Linked DNA regions of Homo sapiens: regions 1, 3 and 4 are each linked to region 2. The links are contacts of gene promoters, found by promoter capture Hi-C in blood cells and fetal thymus (Javierre and others, 2016). All regions are on one chromosome and are shown on one strand. Each heading gives the region's core, a stretch centred on a gene start or on the middle of the fragment in contact. The rest is flanking DNA. Distances are from core to core; before and after follow the strand shown.

The links. Contacts are between HindIII fragments. The CHiCAGO score rates a contact against its expected background, and 5 or more counts as called.
Region 1: a contact is called between a fragment that was not itself captured here and the fragment with the promoter of SLC9B1 in region 2, in 14 of 17 cell types (total B cells, M2 macrophages, erythroblasts and 11 more). The highest score is 11.6, in total B cells.
Region 3: a contact is called between a fragment that was not itself captured here and the fragment with the promoter of SLC9B1 in region 2, in 16 of 17 cell types (M2 macrophages, megakaryocytes, M1 macrophages and 13 more). The highest score is 14.4, in M2 macrophages.
Region 4: a fragment that was not itself captured here is called in contact with the fragment with the promoter of SLC9B1 in region 2 in 5 of 17 cell types (M2 macrophages, total CD8 T cells, erythroblasts and 2 more); the score reaches 6.8 in M2 macrophages.

Annotation. Positions count from the first base shown.
Region 1 is chr4:102,820,172-102,825,557 of GRCh38, forward strand. The region is part of intron 2 of UBE2D3 (ubiquitin conjugating enzyme E2 D3); the gene reads right to left. Among named protein-coding and RNA genes, the nearest start is that of UBE2D3, 4.7 kb to the right of the region's middle. RefSeq lists an enhancer at 5,027-5,386. The HindIII fragment of the contact is 2,301 bases long and covers 2,151-4,451 here.
Region 2 is chr4:103,018,257-103,023,865 of GRCh38, forward strand. SLC9B1 (solute carrier family 9 member B1) reads right to left here and starts at 1,449. Exons shown (of 12, transcript NM_139173.4): 1 at 1,343-1,449. It overlaps SLC9B2 (solute carrier family 9 member B2), which reads right to left. Exons shown (of 12, transcript NM_178833.7): 12 at 3,997-5,609. RefSeq lists an enhancer at 1,290-1,790. The HindIII fragment of the contact is 6,332 bases long and covers 1-2,084 here.
Region 3 is chr4:102,800,686-102,806,292 of GRCh38, forward strand. UBE2D3 (ubiquitin conjugating enzyme E2 D3) reads right to left here. Exons shown (of 8, transcript NM_181891.3): 5 at 1,876-1,953; 6 at 769-874. Among named protein-coding and RNA genes, the nearest start is that of UBE2D3, 24 kb to the right of the region's middle. The HindIII fragment of the contact is 1,908 bases long and covers 2,437-4,344 here.
Region 4 is chr4:102,855,933-102,860,737 of GRCh38, forward strand. It overlaps LOC124900903 (small nucleolar RNA U13), which reads right to left and starts at 3,564; the gene lies at 3,461-3,564. It also overlaps a transcript of UBE2D3 not described here. The HindIII fragment of the contact is 1,369 bases long and covers 1,322-2,690 here.

The DNA.
Region 1 (5,386 bases), core at 2,051-4,550, 200 kb before region 2:
CATCAGGCAGACAGTAACTACTGTAACTGTTCATATAAAGATCTGGTTTACTATAAAGTTTTATTAACTTTAATGTTATGAAATGTCTGTATAAAATATGTAGATGCGAATATCAAGGCAGGGAACAACAAACTTCAGAAACATGGTTATTTCAAGAGAAGGATGCTTGGCAAAAAGATATGAACAATTTCACAAAACTCCAAATAGTCCCTTTAAAACACATTTTAATTTGAAATTTCTTCTGAGAAATCCTTTTTTATCTTAAGGTTTAACAGTAGGCACTGCACAGTATCTCACTGCATCACTGACAAGGTATTAACTTCCTGTTTAGTCGTAATTATAGGTGAAACAAGCATGCGTGTTCATTACACAAGGTACTAAGAATGGATTGAATATTACTAATTTTCTTTCGATCACCACTGAAGGTAAAGTCACTTAACATTATTCAAAGCCATTCTTTTGTAAGCATTATTTAAAAATGGGCAAAGAAACCCAAATTTAGATTTGAAGCTCTGCTCCATGAAAGCAAGAAGGGTGTTTTATGGACATTAAAACAAACAAAACAAACAAACAAACAAAAAAAACAAAGATTAACAGCCAAACAGCTGCCCAGTAGTAGAAAACATTCAATTACACATTAGCCATGAAATTACAGCAAGGTTAGGATTAATGTAAGTATTTCATACTGAAAAAGGTACAAGAAATCATGATTCACAATTGACAAACATTTAAATACGACAAATTCAGCTATGAAAAGTTGAAGGTCTCTTTTACAATAGATTATGTTGAAAGTATCATTAGGAGATAAAAATCAGATGTTTCAACAAAGTATAAAAATACTTCCCTAAACTTTTCCCTTCCCTACATAACAAGGTTGAGGATACAATTCTGAATAAATCTTATCTAATAAGAGAAACTGGGCAGTAAGATATTTGGTGAATGCATTCATTTTTAATTATGAAATAACACTGCTATGGTAGCAAGCTCAAGACCACAACATTTCCAAGAATGGAGAGTTTTATTTCATTAATTTCAAAATACTGGTTTTGGCAAGGGGAATTAAGTCATTATAATAAAAGACAAATCACATTGTAATAATACTAGTACAAAAAATACAGTATAGAAAATTTATTTTAAATACCTCCCCTACTAGATCTAATATTCTTGAAAGGTAAATTACAAAGTGACAAACAACTATTCATGTGTTTACATGCTTATTTTCACCACTGAACGCAGAGATTACCATAGATAAGGACCATCTTCCTCATTTATTCCCTGGGACTAGAATACTACGTCTAATGCAGATTAGGACCTTTACTCCCTTGTATCTGTGGTTCTTAATCAGAGAGGAGCTTCAGAATCACCTAGAAAATTTTCAAAATTATGTGTTTCCAGGGAAAATGATTTAGTAAGTCTAAGACCCCCATGCAGCTGTATTTTTTTTTTTAAATTCTAAACAATCTGACATTTAAAAATAAGTAAACAAGTATAACTGGATTGTAACACAAAGGATAAATGCTCGAGGTATATACCCCATTTACCCTGATGTGATTATGCATTGCATACCTGTATCAAAATATTTCATGCAACCCATAAATATATACACCAACTATGTACCCACAAAATTTTTTTAAAAACTCCAAATGTTCTGGAATATAAATGTAATTCATGTCACACCCAACAATATATAATATTCAGTAAGCTCTTCTATACGCTAACAGATACAAGAAAACTGCTATTTAAAAAAAGAATGCAAAAACCAACCTAGGTTTGAGATTTTAATCTGAAACATTTTTTTATCTCAGTGTTACGAACCTAGTTTCTTTTTTAATAGATAGATTATAGCAACATGCTGTGGAGAATCCTCAAAGATTGCCTGTCTTGGATAAAAAGGGTCACCTAAACTCAGGGGCAAAGTTTGACAGAGCAATCTAGTGACACAGTAGTTCATCCCAGTGATGGAGCATTCAACTTTTTATTTGTATAAATAACAAAAACTAGAATCAACACTGCAGATGAGCATGATGAAAGAAAAGTATGCAGTGTCAGTAATGCATCCTTTTTCAAATTAAACAAATACTGAGGTCCTATTATTATCAGCATCCTTCAGTCACAACTATCCTACACAGAAAGTGAGCTGGCTATCAACAAGCTTTGAGGACCATATATGAAACACATGCAAGACAGTTTACCCAGCCTATATACTAGTTGGGGACAATAAATATATTTTGTTCACTCTAAGACATCCTAAGCAGTTAACTGGCACATGTTAGTTTTCAGTGCTTGAAGAGACTACCCCAAAAGAATTAAATCCACTTCTACTTTCAAAATATTATTAGCCAAAATCTTAACTCACAAATTAGCTATAACCTAAGAGTAAAGCTAACTCCCAATTACTTAGATGTATAAGTGGGAGAGCAAAGCAGCTTATTTCAGGTAACAAACTAAAATCACATACATTATAAAACAGGAATTGAAGGGCCAGGCCACGTGGTGGCTCACGCCTGTAATCCCAGCACTTTGGGAGGCTGAGGCGGGTGGATCACGAGGTCAGGAGATCAAGACCATCCTGGTTAACACGGTGAAACCCTGCCTCTACTAAAAAAACAAAAAAATTAGCCGGGGGTGGTGGTGGGCGCCTGTAGTCCCAGCTACTCAGGAGGCTGAGGCAGGAGAATGGCGTGAACCCAGAAGGCAGAGCTTGCAGTGAGCTGAGATCGCGCCACTGCACTCCAGCCTGGGTAACACAGTGAGACTCCGTCTCCAACAACAACAAAAAAAGGAATTGAAATGGTTCAAAAAAGAGCTTGAGCTTTTGGTGCCTATCTGATTTGAATCCCAGTCACTTACTAGTTGTGTGACTAGACGACTATTTCTCTGAGCCTGTTACTTCATCTATAAAATTCTCACATCTATCCCACATGGTTGTCTTGAGGATTAAATGAGTTAGGGTTTAGATGAGACTGCATTGTCTTAACTACTGTAATAGATAATACTATATGCAAAAGTAAACCGTTCTGAATGACAAAAAAAAACTAAAGGATGATATCAAACTGTAGTTGTTAAGAGCACATACTCTGGACCAGGCTGCCTAGGTTCTAATCCCAACTGTCACAACATGAACCTGGGTCATCTTCTTAACCTCTATGCCTAAGTTTTTCAATTTCGAGATGGAGATAATCTTGAAATTATCTCAGTGGAAGTGGTGGTAGGAGGGAAACGAAGATCAAATGAGAGTTTTTTAACCCTTTACCCATGGTTTCCCTGCTAGCCGCTTGCTTATAATCATATATAAACACTAAAGTCATACTTCCAGAAATAAAAACCCTTACGAAAACTTAACAGGGTGTATACAATGAAAACATGAGCTATTCTTTTAGGCTTGGTTCACATATTTATCTTCAAACGTCCCTAAAACACATATATTGTAGTCCCTGTTTAATGGGAGTGGTAAAATTGTCTACAGCTCTCAATACCAATCAACTTGGAGTGCCACTTTTAACTCCTGTTGTTTAATAGCCCTATTTAAGACCATATTACAGCTCGTTCAAATAAAGAATACAGGAAAAAAGTTGATTGGTCTAACAGTCAAAAAACTTACTCCAAGAACACAGCTGAAGCAAAGTATAAATTCAAAAGCTCGATCAAATGGACTAAAGGTTAAAACTATTCCAATAATCATTTCAGTAAAATATTAACGAGGAATACAGATATATCATAATACTTGAAATGTGGGACCTTCAGACAAGAATAAATTCGAAATAGGTACGTAACACAAGCATACCATACTGACATCAATGGCTACTTGACCCCATATTTCTAGAAGAGGTGCCTAAACCGAAGAGCATTCCAGTTCAGAGCTGTCCACTCACTAAAATTGTTGGATGTGGAATGTTTGAAAGTTGCCTCATGTGATTTTAACATTAACAGCTGAAAAACCAAACCACATGCACACGTCAAAGTTTCTGTAAGTTGAATCAATAATGTTCACATAAACACTGGTTTTTCCAATATGCCAAGTTTTTATGTTGTGTCTATATTACATAAATCTTCAAAATATTTACAAAAGGAGACAACCTGGTTAACTAAGAGTACTAAACTAGAAATCAAAGTTCTTAAACAAAAACGATTTTTAAAAATTATAAATTGTGATATTAAAATAGCAGTAATAACTAGGAGTGTCATGTGCCAAGAGCCTGTTCAAATTTGCACATTAATCCATTTAATCGTCAAAACAAATCTAGGAACTTAAAATTTGTTTTGTTCACTGCTGCCACCCCAATGTCTAAAACAGTGCCTGGTACATATTAGGCACACAGTCATTTATTGTTCATATTACAACAGATACCCTTCTTATAGAGGCACATAAACTTGCCCAGAGCTAGAATTCTAACTGGAGCATTTCTGCTCCAATGTTTACACTCTTAACCACTGTTATATTGTCTCTCTAAAGCTTTTAAATCATTTAAGTGGTGTCACAGCAGCTGGGTATGACCTGTAAGAGAAAAAAAATCAGAGGCCTTCCTTTAACGTGTTCTGTTCCACATGCACAAAAAGCTATGGATCTGGTACTATTCCACATTTTAGTGGCCTGAACTAATTCCAACAGAAAAGATTTTTATTTGTACTGAATGTTATGCTCTTTGTGTAAACCACACTGTAACATACAACTAGGCTTCTCCAATATGTTCCTGGCCTTTAAAGTGGTCACAAAAAGAGGTAATTATTTCAAAATAATTTTTACTTTAATCCTTAACTCCTAAAAAGCGTTTCTTCCTCTTTTCTTTCATTTCACAAAGATTTAAATTTGTATTTCGCATAACCCAAAATGACGATGTTATGAAGGCCCAAAACAAAATTCACGATTTCATATCAATACATACTAAGAGTGAAGATTTAAACCTTCCTCTTTCATGAAACACCAATCTTGCCAAATAAACTCCAGTCATAATTAAATACAGGCAAATGTAGTATCAGGTCTATTTTAGTAAAGGCAAATTCTTGCCATTCCTCTCAGAACTCTTTTTAAAAAAGTAATCTATTAAAACCAAAGTTTCTAACACTCACCGACACTCCACAATTTTTCTAGTAAGGCTGAATTTATTCCATGACATTTTTTTCAAGTTAGCTGTAAACACTCCACCCTCTTCGATTGTGCAACAACCAAACACATCACACAAATACAAGTCACAAAAAAGGGAAATACAGTTTAAGAGTTTGAATTTAGGTAAGTTTTGAGCAGAGGATCTTAGAGCAGTGCACAACGCGATATAAAAGTTAACATTTAACAAATCATATTAATTCACATTATTACGAAAGGAGATGCCGGAAAGAGCCTGAACCAGTTAAAGCAGCCGCCATCTTAAAATGCGGGATAGAAGTTAGA
Region 2 (5,609 bases), core at 199-2,698:
AGGACCTTATGACAAGAGCCAACTGAAAAACAGCAGTATAAATTCTGGTACTCTAAAAGCCCAGACTTCACCACTGTGCAATATATCCACACAACAAAACTGAACTTGTACTAACTAAATCTGTATAGAATTTTAAAAAGTAAGTTAAAAAAAATTCTGGTACTCACAGGGGACAATACCTATGAATGCCCTTTTCATAGGCACACAGTGACTAAAATATTTGGGGCATGAATTCTCTAGGGGTGACAATAATAAGTGTCATTTTTCATGCTTCTGTTGCACACATAATTATATTTATCTCTAAGGAAAATCAGAGAGTGGGGTGTGGCCTCCCTCAGTGCCACCTGGGCCAGTTGTCTCCCCACATCACCAAATCTGTTATTTCACAGGCTCTAGGACACCCATAGAGGGGGAGTGAGGGACCTGGTATGGTCCCGTGAAGAGCTCTTGTAACACTACTGATTGATGTGACAGACACAGTATGTGTGCAACTTTCCTTTTTCCTTCAAAAGCACTGGTCTAAAGCAGGGATCCCCAACCCCTGGGCAGCAGACAGGTACAGGTTTGTGGCCTATTAGGAACAGGCCACACAGCAGGTGAGCAGGGCTAGAGGATTATGCCTGAGCTCCAGCTCCTGTCAGATGAGCAAAGGCATTAGATTCTCATAGGAGCACAGACCTGATTATGAACTGCGCATGTGAGGGATCTAAATTGCGCCTTCTCAAGAGAATCTAATGCCTGATGATCTGAGATAGAAGAGTGTCATCCCATCTTGCCCCCCACCCCAAACTGTCTTCCATGAAACTGATCCCTGGTGCCAAAAAGGTTGGGGACTGCTGGAAGTGCTTGTCCCCTGGGTTAAAGCCAAGAGGAGTAAACAGGATTAAGGGGCGTGGATGTGGGTGGGTGGGGGAAGAGAGCTTTCTCAGGATCGGCAACCAATCCCAGAATCTCCAGTCGCAGGAGCATGTATGTGAAGGTTTATTTGCAGGGATCCACCGTTTGTAAAATAGTACACGCTTAATAAAATTAATTTTGAGGTCAATCTTAACTGACAGATCTCTTCTTTCTTACTGGCGAGTATTTGTAAAATAAGAAAAACAGGAGGAAAAGAGAACAAACAAGAGAGATGTGGGATGACGGAGTAAGGAAAGGAGTCACGGAGAGGAGAGACAATGTCTGTGGCTGTTCCCTCAGCGTCTGGGAGAAGAGCCCAAGAATCCCATTGAACTGAGGGGGAGGAAAGGCCCTCCTGCGGCCTACCGCAAGGAAACGATCGCGGCAGACCCGGGACTAGCGCCAAAGGGCTTGGAAGGGCGGCGTTAAGAAAAATGGGCCGTACCTACAACTTCTTTCGCAGCCCTCGCTGGCCCGGGAGCGGCCCAGGAGCCCAGTGACCGTTGCGTAAGCCACGCGCCACCCAGGTGGGCAGGGTGGTGACGCGAAAGCCCGGATAGACTTCCGCGCAGGGGCGGGGCGGGGCGAGGAGGCGGCAGCGCGTTTAAGTGACGTCTTGGCTGTCCGCGCCGGCAGAGGCGAGGGTTCTGGGGTTTCTGGGACTGTCTGGTGTGTTTTCTGTCTATTGAACCCTTTCCTTTCGACGTCTCTTCTGAATATTGACTCATCGGGTTGTAGAAATCCAGGGACAGAGTTGACATCACTGGGCATTTTAGCCAAAAAGCAGTGCTCGGGACTGCATGTGCCAGAAGTAAACTTGTCAAAACTCAGATTGTGTTTCCCCTAAAGTCAGCTTAAAGTGCAATGGTAGAAGAGCACGGTCTCTCCCCAAGACGGCCTGAGCTTAAACTGCAGCGCTGTCACTTGCTAGCTATGGGACCTAGGCAAATACATCGTCTCCCTGAGGTTGTCTTCTCATCTGTAAAGGACGCTGTGGTGGTGGTGTGAGAATAAATGAGACATGGCAAGTGTCTGGAACAAAGACGCTGTGTACAAAGTAAACACTTAATATACTGTTATCAGTATAAAACCTTTGTGAGTTTTTTTTTTTTTTCCGCATGAAATCTTATGTGGAAAGTTGTATGTGAAAGAAATGAAAGCGGAGCTGCGTTGATGGTGGGCCCAGAAGCTTTGGCCTTTCAGTCCCAAAGTTTCCAGTAATAGAATCCGCGCTTCCTATAAAAGACAAAAACAACTGTTATTGGAGAAAGTGTAAACTTCTTAGAAAGACAAACTGCCCTTTCCTATCTAATGTTTCTCCTGACACTCAATGTTTACTCTTGAACACTGTATTCCTTTTTGCCTCAGTGCGTTCTGTAAAGTTAATTCCTCTACCGGAGTGTTCTTTTTCTTAGTCATCATCTAAGATCTGATCCAAATTACCGTTCCTTCTTGGGTAACTTAAATACGAAATTATCTTTTTATTGGTTTTGTTGACGTTGTTGAGACAGGGTCTCACTCTATTACCCCGGCTGGAGTGCAGTGCGATCTAGGCTCCCTGCAGCCTCCTCCTCCTTGGTTCAAGCGATCCTCCTGCCTCCTGAGTAGCTGGGACTACAGGTGGGCACCACTACCCCCGGCTAATTTTTGTATTTTTAGTAGAGAGGAGTTTCACATATTGCCCAGGAGGACTTGAACTCCTGGACTTAAGTGATCTGCCCGTCTTGGCTTCCCACAGTACTGGGATTACAAGCGTGAGCCACCACAGCCCTGCCCTTTTTATTGTTTTTAACACCTTCCCTCCTTCAACGTGTTATAGACATCTCAGCAAGGATTTATTTTTCTTCCTCGTTTCAGGAGAGTAGACAGGGTTTCATGATTATAGGGTTAAGGAAATGTTTTGTACTCATGAAAAGGAAATGTTTTGTACTCACAGGAAAAGCAGGTAGATCCCTAAAGATAATGGGAGTTGGGACAAATGGTAAACCTGGGAAGGAAGACCTTTGCTAGGAGTCTGTTTGCCTCCAAGGCACTACTCTTATGCTCTAGAAGGAATGGGCTCCTGGAGAGGTAAGTGCTTTAGGGTCCATGTAAGGAAGATGGAGCGCACATCAACAAATGGAGTTTTGGAATTCTCACCAGGCCAGAGGGCTCAGGCTGGATTTGAGTCAGTCAACTATAAATATAATATTACGTACTCCCCAAATGCCATGAAGCAATTCCCACTTGTTACAGAGAGGTACATAAATGATTCATATAAAAATATAATGTTCTGAGACATTAAAAAAATACAGTGGTTCTTTGGGAGACAATATAATGAAAATTTACTAATAAAAAACATTTAAACAATCATCTGATAACCTTTCTTATAAAAATTAAGTTTTAAAAATAAGTAAATTGATTATATTTGCAACAAAGTCATGGAAAGCAAAAGCTTTTGAGGAATAAGGAGAATCTTAACTGAGAGCAATTTTTTAAAACTATACATGACATGATAAAAAAAGTTTTAACACTTTCTACATAGTTTCATACTTCTGAAAGTACTTCAATAAAAATATTTAGCCAATGATCTATTTAGTATGATTTCAGTGCCAACTTTCTTTTCTAGTCTTATCTCTAATTCTCTTCATCAATCTCAAGTGCCAATCACTTTCTATGCTCCAGGCTTTACTGTTTTCAAAACTTTGCTAATATGCCAGCCTCCCACACTAGTTGTTCCCATCTTCACCTTACTCCCTAATATTACCCCATCCATCCAGATCCTCTCCATTCTTGAAGGTCTAGTTCAAGTATCAGTTCCTCTAAGATTTCCTCAACTTCTACACTAAAAACACTTTTGAATTATTCACTTGGATTATAGCTATTTGTACATATCTTATTTCCTTCTAAGGTTCTTAAAGGCAAGTATCATGTCTTATTCATATTTGTATTCCTCACATTGTCAATTTTCCACTAGAATCAAGTTCTATTGAAAACCAAGCCCTTGAATATCTTGTTCATCACTGTATTCCCTAGTATCTAGCACAAGACCTGGCACACAGTAGGCATGTTATAATATATTCTGAGTGAGGGAGTAAATGGATTTTAAAACAAGCTCCATGAAGGCAGGGATTTGTCTGTTTTATTCATTGCAAAATGAATATCTGAATATAAACATGAAGGCTTAGCATTCATTATATACAAAAAAATTCTTCAATCTACATAGCATCATAAAAGCCAAATATGAAATACTTATGTTGCCTTTCACCCAACAAATTCAGTTGATGATATATCTTTCTGAAAATAATACATCCCCCAAAACTGCAGTACAATTTTAAAGAAAAATAAAATACATGTTTATATTAGTTTCAGTTTTCTTGTTTGTATTTTTCTGTGTTCTAAATTTTTTGCAATGAAAATGTGTTACTTTATAATCAGAAAAAAATACTATTTTTAAAGAATGTAGTGGATGAGATCATTTGCAAATGTTTACCTGAGGAAATTTTGAGGACATCAAGATCAATCAAGGTGATTGGGAGTTAATACCAGACAGAAATATACTGTCCTTGGAAATATGACACTTCTTTCAGGGACTGAATTATGTCCTTCCCCACACATTCATATGTTGAAGCCTTAACTTCCAATGTGATGTATTTAGATATGAGGATTTGGGAAGGCAATTAGATTTGGATGAGGTCATGAGGGTAGGGCCCTCATGCTGTGATTAGAGTACCCTTATAAGAAGAGACACCAGAGAGCTTGCTTGCTCTCTCTCGGCATCAAGTGATGACACATGAGTGAGAGGGTGAGAATGTGGCCATTGGCAAGCCAGGGAGAGAGACTTCACCAGAGCCCAACAATGCTGGCATCCTGATCTCGAACTTCCAACCTTTAATAGAAGTAAGTTTCTGTTGTGTAAGCCACCCAGTGTATGGTATTTTGTTATAGCAGCCCAAGCTGACTAAGATAGACTAAGTGGACTAAGATCCGAACTGTCGTGTGGCAAGTAGTTTTCTGATATTGAGAGAGGATCCTCTTCCTCTCAGATTTAGTCAGTAAATGTTTATTAAATGTCTACTGTGTTCCATGCCCTGTGAAAAATGCTGAGGATTCAAGGATAATTAAGACAAGGTTCCTACCCATAGGGAGCTGATTTAATAAGAGACAAACATGTAAATAAAGTGAAAAAAAGTGTTACATGTGCTCTGACATAAGTATGTATAAGGGACCCAAAAGTTAGAGTAATTGTTTCTATCTGTGGTTTAAGAGGGGATAGGTTGAGTTGGTCAGTACTCTATCAGGTTAACCCTAAGTTCACCAACCAAGTCAAGAGATGTGGCTTTCAATGTGGTGACAAACCCCGGCCTTCACATGGTGAGCCCTGCTGAATGGTCAGCCTCTGTCATTCTTGACCTCACCATCTCCATGATATATAACAGCAACATAGTCTTATAGCAATTAATAAATTCCTACAAAGAGCTTCCAGGAATAGGCACAAATTTCAGAGATCCAATAGAGGAAGTCAAAAAGCCAGCACTGGGCAGTCACAGAGATTTAGATGGTGGCTACCCTCTTAGAGGTAGAAAAGAGTTTGCTGCATGACCTCAAAATGAAAACAGGTATTGGCAGTGGCTTCAGGTGCCCTTCAATCATTTCTGTACTCTGTGGACTTCCATTTCTAATTTTCCTAGGGGCCCTAAACATATTCAATAGCATTCTGATTTAGTTATACT
Region 3 (5,607 bases), core at 2,141-4,640, 220 kb before region 2:
AGTTTGGGAAATGCTACTGCTACAGTCTCTCTCCATGAGATTCAAGTGCAGTATATACACATATGAAACTTTTATACAATGCCTTGCCTTTTGAAAAAGCTTTTTTGTACTTACTGAACTCATAAAATCAAAAAACAATTAATGGTGAAATAGTGTTAATTATTACAACTTCACCTGGGATATTCATGCGGAGACCGGAAAACTTGTTACATATAACGTAACAGATACCTATTAAGAGACCAGAATTGATCTACAGATCTTTCGAAGATTATATAATTTTAGACTGTCATTAGGTAGAAACAACCTATCATGGTTACATAAAACATGACTGAAGATTTGTCTAAAAATTAACCCAGGAAAGCAAAATCAGAATTTTCCTAGAGTGGAAACCTCAGGATTCAAAAGCTCTATTAAGTTTAGGTATATCATACCATTCTTGGTAAAAAGGCCGCAAGTTAGTGTGAGATGTCCAAGTGGTTTGGGATTGAAAAATACAGAAGTCTATTAAAATAAATTTTGCTATTATAAGATGAGATGAAGGTAACTCATTAGGCAAATAATGCCTACTCACCACAATTTGAATTTTAACAACTTCTCACAAAGTATCTTTAATCAACACCACTAAAAGAACAAAAATTATAAAAGTAACTTTATTGCTTCCCCATCTCTTACCAAAAAGCTGCCATAATAAAAATACTCAGATAAGTAGATCTAAGAATGAAGCTTTATTAGACAATGAGAACAGCTTATTTCACTAGAAATATTTACCTTTAGAAATTGTTAAAGCAGGCGACCACTGTGATCTTAGAATATCGAGACAAATGCTGCCATTACTGTTAATATTTGGATGATAAATTCTTGTTGTAAATGCAACCTAAAACAAAAACTTTTAAGTATTTTATTCAAATAAAAACAAACATCTTTTAAAGCAAAACTTAAAATAATCAAGCCACAATGTTAAAAATGTCATCTATTAGCATAGAAGTTCTAAATATTATAGAAACTGATTTTTACAATCTGACCACAACCCCCTGCCTCCTCTTTTTACAACAGAAACCTAAACTTTTGGATAAAAATTTCATTACTCATATGATGTAAAGTTCTAAAGGTTACTGTGGCCCTACCATATCATGAATCAAAGGGCAATTTAAAGGTATTTAACACATTCATTTATAAAAGCCCTAACTTTTGGATGTAACCAAAATTTGTAGACCATCTCATTTAAAGTTTCATTAAGTTACACAGGTACACCTGAGTCTGCATTTCCACCGTACATAAAACATAAACTTGAATCACAAAAATGGAAACCATCACATTGCACCTATAACATTACTAGAGATTGTTATAGTGACATGTTTATGACCTTTGTATATTACCTTTTCTAGTTATTCATACAGGTTGAATTTATGTTAATGACTGAAAAGTGAAGGATAATATGCTTTTAATACCTATAAACCAGTGCACTAAGCAACTCTAAGTTTTCACAAATTTACACTTACGTATACAAAACTATAAGCATAATAAGCATATGCTGTAACAATACGTGCAAATATAAATTGAAGTTGGACATTTGATGCTTACAAGACAACAAAAGCCCAAAAATCAGAATCTGTGTAACAATAATACAGATGAGGGCGGAAGCTTCCACATGGTCTGAATCTTGCAACATTAAAGAAAAGGCAAACCTTATTCCTATTTACAAAGCTCAAACTGAGGTCTAGCTCTTTAAACCAAAGGTTAAGAGTCAGCATCTATACATGAGTGCAATTCAACATATATATACAGCCTACACAGAACCCTATCTTCCAAGAATGCTCTATTCCTTTGAAATAAAGCATAAATCTATACTAACAGATTTTGAGGGAAAATACTTGCCTTAGGTGGTTTGAAGGGGTAGTCTGTAGGAAAATGAATTGTCAAAAAGAATACACCGCCTTGATATGGGCTGTCATTCTGTAAAAAGAAAAGTATGCTTAACTCAAATTTAAAATATTATTGCTAAATATTCCGTAACATTTGTTTCCAAGCATTTCTCTAATAATGAACCCAAATCACCTATTTACACTGCAATAAATAATCTATTCCATGAAAATTCAGTCTATAGTAATAGAAAAAAACTTAAAACTTATACAGTAATAAACCCTAATTTATCTAGTCATTTTACACGTCACCAAAATGTTTTTTTAAAAAGTTATCCAGAAACGCAAGTATTCTAGATCTCAATTCTCAAAAGTACAACACAGCAATAAAGCCTACATAATCATGTTTCAGAATAATCTGTAAACAAAATTTTACACATGTAGATTATTTCTTCCAATAGCCAGATGTGTACAAATGGCTTCACAACAGTCCATTCTGCCCACTGGCAAACCAAATGTTAGCTATTCCAGGTAACACACACACACCACCTTCAAGAGGAGAACAGAGAAAAGCCTAAGCTTCTCATTTTAATCAATACCAGAAAATACATGCATTGCCCCTATTTTATGCATGAGAAAAATGAGGCTTAAAGAACTTAGTCTAGTGTACAAATGGTAAATGATAGAACCAAGATTCAAACACAAGTCTTTTGAAGACCACTTAATGATCAAAGATACTGACCTACTCAGGAATTTAAAGTTAAAATGTGGAATGCCTAACTGCTTCTGGGTATGCAAAGAACCAATCCGAAGACATGTTTTACAACTTACATGAACTGGGTTTTTACCAACACTGACTCCCCTCTATTAGAAAGGCTTTGTATATACAGCTATATATGAGCCTTTCACTATGCCCATTCTGGATGTCAGGCACATAAAAAACAGGCCTGACACTAACACAGCTCATCTAATTCCTACCCTTCTGTAAAATAAATAAACATTAATTCAATTAATCTAACCCCTTGCTATATACTGTATGTGTGTTAAGGGATCCAAAGAACAATTTTTTTTATCTTGATGAGCTTACACTGATAGACATGTAAAGTAACTGCAATGAAATGTTATAGGTATCATGAAATATGAACAAGGGACACGAGTTCAAAGAAGAAAGGTCAATTTATTAATGAAGAATCAGGTTCAAAGAAATATACAACTAGTAAATGGAAGAGCTTTTATTTATTTGAGACGGAGTCTCACTCTGTCGCTCAGGCTTAAGCGCAGTGGCACGATCTCAGCTCACTGCGACCTCTGCCTCCTGGGTTCAAGCAACTCTCCTGCCTCAGCCTCCCAAGTAGCTGGGATTACACATATGCACCACCACACCCAGCTAATTTTTGTATTTTTAGTAGAGACTGAGTTTCACCATGTTGGCCAGGCTAGTCTTGCGGCCTCCTGACCTTGTGATCCACCCATCTCGGCCTCCCAAAATGTGCTGATTATAGGTGTGAGCTACTGTACCCAGCCAGAGCTTATTTAAAGTGAGTCCTTCTCCATCTCCCAAGTCTTCCCCCTTTTTTTTTGTAGGGGTGGAGGGCGGGGGGAATGGGAACGGGAAGGGGGACAAACAAGACGCAGAATATCATCTTGCTGTTTGTTGCCCAAGCTCGAGTAAAATGGTGCAACCTCAGCTCACTGCAAGCGCCGCCTCCCCAGGTTCAAGAGATTCTCCTGCTTCAGCTGCCTCAGTAGCTTGGATTACAGGTGTGCACCAACGTGCCCAGCTAATTTTTTATTTTTAGTAGAGATGGGGCTTCACCATGTTGGCTGAACTCTTAACTCCTGACCCCAGGTGATCCGCCTGCCTCAGCCTCCCAAAGTGCTGGGATTACAGGTATCAGCCACCGTGCCCAGTCCTTTTTCATATTTTCTACAAAATATGGAACTAGAAAAACACTCAGGTCACTTAGAATGTGACCTGAGTTTATTAGATTAACATGTCTTTATTAAATAGTTATATTAATTTTGAATAGATGCTTCAAATAGCATATACTTTCACCTGATCCAATACTATACAAGATATGTTTTTTCTGTGTAAAATTAACAATTTAAAGGTAATCCCAAACACTAAAGTTGTTTTTGTTTTTTTTGAGACAGGGTCTTGCTCTGTCGCCCAGACTGGAGTGCAGTGGCACGATCTTGGCTCACTGCAACCCTCTGCCTCCTGGGATCAAGTGATTCTCCCACCTCACCCTCCCGAGTAGCTGGAACTACAGGAGTGAACCACCACAGTTGGCTAATTTTTTTTGTCTTTTTAGTAGAGACGGAGTTTTTGTTGTCTTTTTAGTTGAGAGGCTGGTCTCAAACTGCTGAGTTCCAGTGATCCACCCACCTTGGCCTCCCAAAGTGTTGGGATTACAGTCGTGAGCCACCATGCCCGGCCCCAAACATTGAAGTTTTAATAACCTAATTCCAGAAGTTCTTTGTAAGCTTTCATTTCAATTTTCATAAAATCAAATGCTGTCTATGACTGCTTCTGAATAAAGGCAATCTGCTGATGGGATTTAGGCAAAGCCAAATTTCGTTTCGTTTGTTCGAAAAAAGAACTTTATAAAGAAGGCAAAATATTTCAATGTTACAATTTAACACTAAAGTTCTGCCATGCCAAAAGAGGAAGAACTACGAGGTTCAGAGATAATGAAACTAGGCAATATAAAAAATTGAGACCCTATGATATTTAAATTCTATTATGAATCAGCAGCAAACTACACCAAAAAGAAACAAAATCCCCAAAGAATAAGGAACACTGTGATCAGCAAATCGACTCAAATCGTACAAGTCCAGAATTTATGTTAGATTTTTTCAGAAACCTTCTACTTCTTTTGCTCTCATCAGTGCAAAGTTGCTCCCTCACAGTGCCTCAGCTCTTCTGTGGCAATAAAACGTTGGTATTCTTTTTTTTTTTTTTTTAAAGTGGTGCTGTCGCCCAGGCTGGAGTGCAGTGGTGTGATCTCGGCTCACTGCAACCTCCACCTCCCAGGTTCAAGTAAATTCTCGGGCCTCAGCCTCCAAAGAAGCTGGAATTACAGGCATGTGCCACTACACCCAGCTAAAAATGCTGGTATTCTTATAGGTTGATTTTCTACTCTTAACTGCTGACCCATAAAAATTTGAGTTGCAAAATATATCTCTGGTCAGTTATTCATTCCAGGGCATATATTCAAATGCCTACTGATATTTCTACTTGGATATCTCTACTTGGATATCTCATGTCATGCGTCCAAAACTGAAACTTGTCTCAATCCCTTTTTTCCTGTTTATTAATAGCAAGCCATAACTGAAAGCCATAAACCAGGATCTCATCATCAACTTCTTCCTCTCTTATCTCAGAATCAAGATAGTTATCAAGTAAGATCTTTAAAATTTCTTGAATTAGCTTCTCCTTTATGCCCACTGTCACTACCATCTTAGTTCATGATGTTATCTTCAGCCTAGATTATGGCAATAGCTTACTAATGATTATCCCTCCATCCTAATGATAAAGTGGTCTTTTAAAAATGTTACTCCCCTGCTTGAAATCTATGATAGTTTTTAAGATAATTCCAACTCCTAAGTACATACGGTGCTTTATGATCTGGGTGCCCATCTAGTTTCATCTTCTGTCTCTTCTATAGAACATGTTCTCTACTGCACATAAAATATTATATGGATAACATATCTTTTTCTCTTCCCTACTTGGAATATTCTTCCT
Region 4 (4,805 bases), core at 756-3,255, 160 kb before region 2:
TTGCCATTTTAAAATGAAACCCATCCTAAAATAGGAGCCACAAAGATGCAGGGTTGCGGTGAGGCTGGTAATATGTGAAGAGTGAACAAGAAACCATAAAGCCATATGAGATTATTAGGTGTGGAAAAATATGAGCTAAAATAAGGATCATAGCTGGGCATGGTGGCTCATGCCTGTACTCCCAGCATTGTGAAAGGCCTAGGCAGGCAAATCACTTAAGGCCAGGAGTTCAAGACCAGCCTCGCTAACATGGCAAAACTCTGTCTCTACTAAAAATACAAAAATTAGCCAGGCATGGTGGCGCAAGCCTGTGATCCCAGCTACTCGGAAGGCTGAGGCACCAAAAATTTCTTGCAACTGGGAGGCAGAGGCTGCAGTGAGCTGAGATTGCGCCACTGCACTCCCGTCTGGGCAACAGAGCAAGACGGTCTCAAAAATAATAATGAATAAAAAATTAAAAAATAAAGAACATCATAGATAAATAGCAGGTGGATTGGATCTTATGATGCTTTTGAGATACAGAATTTTAATATTTTTGTGCAGTTAAAATCTCTAGAACTTTTCCTTTGTGCTTTCTAGTGCTTTCATGCTTTGAAAAAACCTTTTTATCCAGAGATATTTTTAGGTTGATAATTAAAATATTTAAAATCATAATATTCGTATATGGAAAGAAATTCAAACAAAATAAGATACTAGAAAGTAAAAGGCCTCATCTACTGTCTCTCCTCCTTTCCTCAGAAGTTATCATTTTTCTAGGTATCCTTCTAGAAATGTTCTATGTATAATCAAATACATGTAATTTTTAAAATTTATAAATAGGATACTATACATACTTTCTACAATTTGCTTTTTTCATTCACACATATGGCCCTACTCCAGAGATTGAGGTTTTAAATATCAGGAAGAATTTTATTTAGAAGGCAAAACTACAGAGACAAAAGATAATTGGTTACCCAGGGGTATAAGGTAGGTAGGGGTAAATAGGTGGAGCATAGGGCACTTATAGGGTAATAAAATGATTATGTATGCTACTATTATGGTGGACACATGACACTATGCAGTTGTCAAAATTGATAGAACTATACAGCACAGAGTGACCCCTAATGTTAACTATGGATTTTAGTTAATAATGTAGCAGTACTGGTTCATCAGTTGTGACAAATGTACCACACTAATGCAGGATATTAATAGGAGAAATGGTGTGTGTTGGGTTAGAGGGTGACATATGGGAATCTGTATTTTCTGCCCTGTTCTTCTGTAAATTTAAAGCTATTCTTTAAAAAGTCTTTGAAAAAACTTCATTTAGAAAAACTATTCTTAAAGCTTTGTATAGAATATTTTAAAATTGGAGGCTAGAGGTCACATATCTGGTAGACTGTTGCTATGGCCCAAACATAAAATAATAAAGGACTATACTATGGTAGCAAATAAAATTACTTTGAATAGGTTTGCTAATACCTAAGAAAATTTCACATTAGAAATTGAGTGGAATTTAAAGTTTCTAATATAAAGAAATCATGTGTCAAACATAGTGTTAATCAAAAATAGGAAAAAACAATATGCATAAAAATTATGAGAACAAAAGGAAATGTGGCTGAAAAGATGCTAATAGCCATAACATGTTGAATATGTTGTTTCTTTTTAAAGTTAACATGACACAGAGGAACCAGGAAATGCGTCTACTGCATTTAGTTTTATTTATGTTCTTAAATTGTTTATTTCCAGATTTCTGTAACATGTATATATATTTTTAAATTCAATTTTATTTTGTGTGTGTGTGTGATGGAGTATCACTCCCTCGCCTAGGCTGGAGTGCAGTGCTGCGATCTCAGCTTATTACAACCTCTGCCTCCCGGGTTCAAGCAATTCTTCTGCCTCAGCCTCCTGAGTAGCTAGGATTACAGGCATGCACCACCATGCCTGGCTAATTTTTTTGTATTTAGTAGAGACAGGGTTTCACCATGTTGGCCAGGCTGATCTCGAACTCCTGACCTCGTGATCCACCTGCCTTGGCCTCCCAAAGTGCTGGGGTTACAGGCATGAGCCACCGTGCCCGGCCTGTATTTTCTTAAAAGATCAGCCATTACCAAGTTATTATTGGATGCCTTTAATCTCTTTTGTTAGTGTATCCATATTCCAATAAAAATTTATTTATAAAAACAGGCAGTGGTCTGCTCTATAGGATCTTGCACTAATAAGTTACTTTAATTCTTTAAGGTTGTCTTGAGAATTAAAACACATAATGTACAAATAAAACACCATGATTTGGCATATAGTAAGCACTTGAAAATAGTAGTGGCTATTTTATTAAAATAGTGTGTTATCATACAGCTCAAAATGCTGATAAGATGAATCTGAAATTCAGACTTAAAAGTATTTTTATTATAGTAACAAGGTTATATTTGGGATTTTAAGTTTTGTTCTACCACCAGTGGTAGTTTAAGGCTTCTTGTATAACGGTTCTTTGTGATGTTTTTCTTGTCAGAGACACGTGTGATGAACTCTTGGGACATGTTCCACTACTTGGGGATCCTGGTATTTCCTTGCTCAGTTTTCACAAGAAATAGGTTTGGCATCTCTAGGAGTATCAAATGAAGATGTTCAGAAACGACACAAGGTGTCGTTTAAAGTTTAAAGTCATTTTCGACTTTAAAAAATATTCTATTGATATCCATTAATAATGTAGTAAAAGCTTCCAAGTTACTATAAAGTAATGGTTCTGGAAAGAGCATGTTAATTTAAAAAAATAACTACTTTAGGTATGATTGACATGTAAAGCTGTATATATTGTATATAATACAATTAGTTTGGGGATACATTCTAATCATTTATGATAATAACAACTTAGATCTCATACAAAAACTCGACACTTTAACTCATCTATCCTCTCCCACATTGTTATCGATGTCAAAATTTACATTTTTATATTGTGCATCAATTAACAAATTACTGTAGCTATAGTTATTTTTAATACTTTTAACTCAGAGTTAAAAATGATTTTATGTATCACCATTACATTACAGTATTCTGAATGTAACTCTATACTTCCCTTTACCAGGGAGTTTCATACTTTCACGTTTTCATGTTGCTAATTAGCATCCTTTAGTTTCCACTTGAAGTACTTCAACTTTAGTTTCAGTTTTAGCATTTCTTGTGAGGCAGGTCTAGTGGTGATGAACTCCCTCAGCTTTTGTTTTTGTGGAAAAGTCTTCATCTTTCCTTTTCTGAATGACAGCTTTGTGGGTAAATTATTCTTAGTTGGGAGGCTTTTCTTTTCTTTCAGTATTTTGAGTATATCATCCCATTCTCTTCTGGCTTGCAAGGTTTGCTGAAAAACCTGCTGAAAGTCTTATAGGAGCTCCCTTGTACATGACAAGTTGCTTTCCTCTGCTGCTTTCAAATTCTTTGTCATTAACTTTTGAAAATTTGATCATAATGTGTCTCAGTGAAAAAATTTTCATATCAGACAGGTAATGTGCCAGTGTTTTGGCAAGGTCTGAGAAAGGCACATCTTACACAATGGTATGAAAACCCAATCATCATGCTTATGAACCACAAAAAGATCAATGAAGACATCTTTATGTTCAACCTACATGGAATTCTTTGGGAATTGTGGATCTGGATGTTCATTTTCCTCCCCAGATTTGGGCAGTTTTCTGCTATTATTTCTTTAAATAAGCAATCTGCCTCCTTTCTCTTTCTCTGCTTGCTCTACCACTTCTATAATGCGCATATTGGTTTAGAGTCCTGTAGGCTTACTTTATTATTTTTCCTCTTTGTTCCTTTGACTGGATAATATCAAATGATCTGTCTTCAAGTTCATTGATTCTTCCTTCTGCTTGATTCAATCTGCCACTGAAGCTCACTTTTGAATTTTTCAGTTCAGTTATTGTGTTCTTTAGTTTCAGAATTTGATTTGTTTTTTTTTTTTGATATGGAGTCTCGCTCTGTCACCCAGGCTGGAGTGCAGTGGCGTGATCTCAGCTCACTGCAAGCTCTGCCTCCCGGGTTCACACCATTCTCCTGCCTCAGCCTCCTGAGTAGCTGGGACTACAGGCACCCACCACCACTCCTGGCTAATTTTTTTTGTAATTTTAGTAGAGACGGCGTTTCACCATGTTAGCCAGGATGGTCTCGATCTCCTAACCTCATGATCCACACGCCTCGGCCTCCCAAAGCACTGGGATTACAGGCGTGAGCCACCGCGCCCAGCCAGAATTTGATTGTTTAGTGGTTTCTTTGTTGAAATTCTCATTTGTTCATGTATTGTTTTCCTGATTTCGTTTAGCTCACTGAGATTCAAGGTGAGTGTTCTGAATTCTTTATCAGGTAATTTATAGGTCTCTGTTTCTTTGGGGTCAACTGCTAGAACTTTAATTTGTTCCTTTGGTTGTCATGTTTTCTTGGTGTGTGTGTGTGTGTGTTCAACTGCTAGAACTTTAATTTATTCCTTTGGTTGTCATGTTTTCCTGGTGTGTGTGTGTGTGTGTATGTGTGTGTGTGTGTGTTCTTTTAAGCCTTGTCTTCTAACTTTGCATCTGAAGAAAGAGTCACTTCCTCCAGTCTTTACTGACTAGCTTCAGAAGGGAAAGACGTTCACCAGTCAGCCTGACTAGAGATTCTGAAGGTCTCTCAGACCTTTTCTATGATATGCCCATTCCATTCCTCTTGTTCTGTCTTGGGAGGGGAAGTCTTAGGATTGTGTGCTTTCTTTCAATCTCACAAAGCTAGACTATGTGCTGAGAACCTCCTTTTATTTTCTCTAGTGCAGTGCCTCAGAGTGTTCAAGGTTGTGTGCTTTCTTC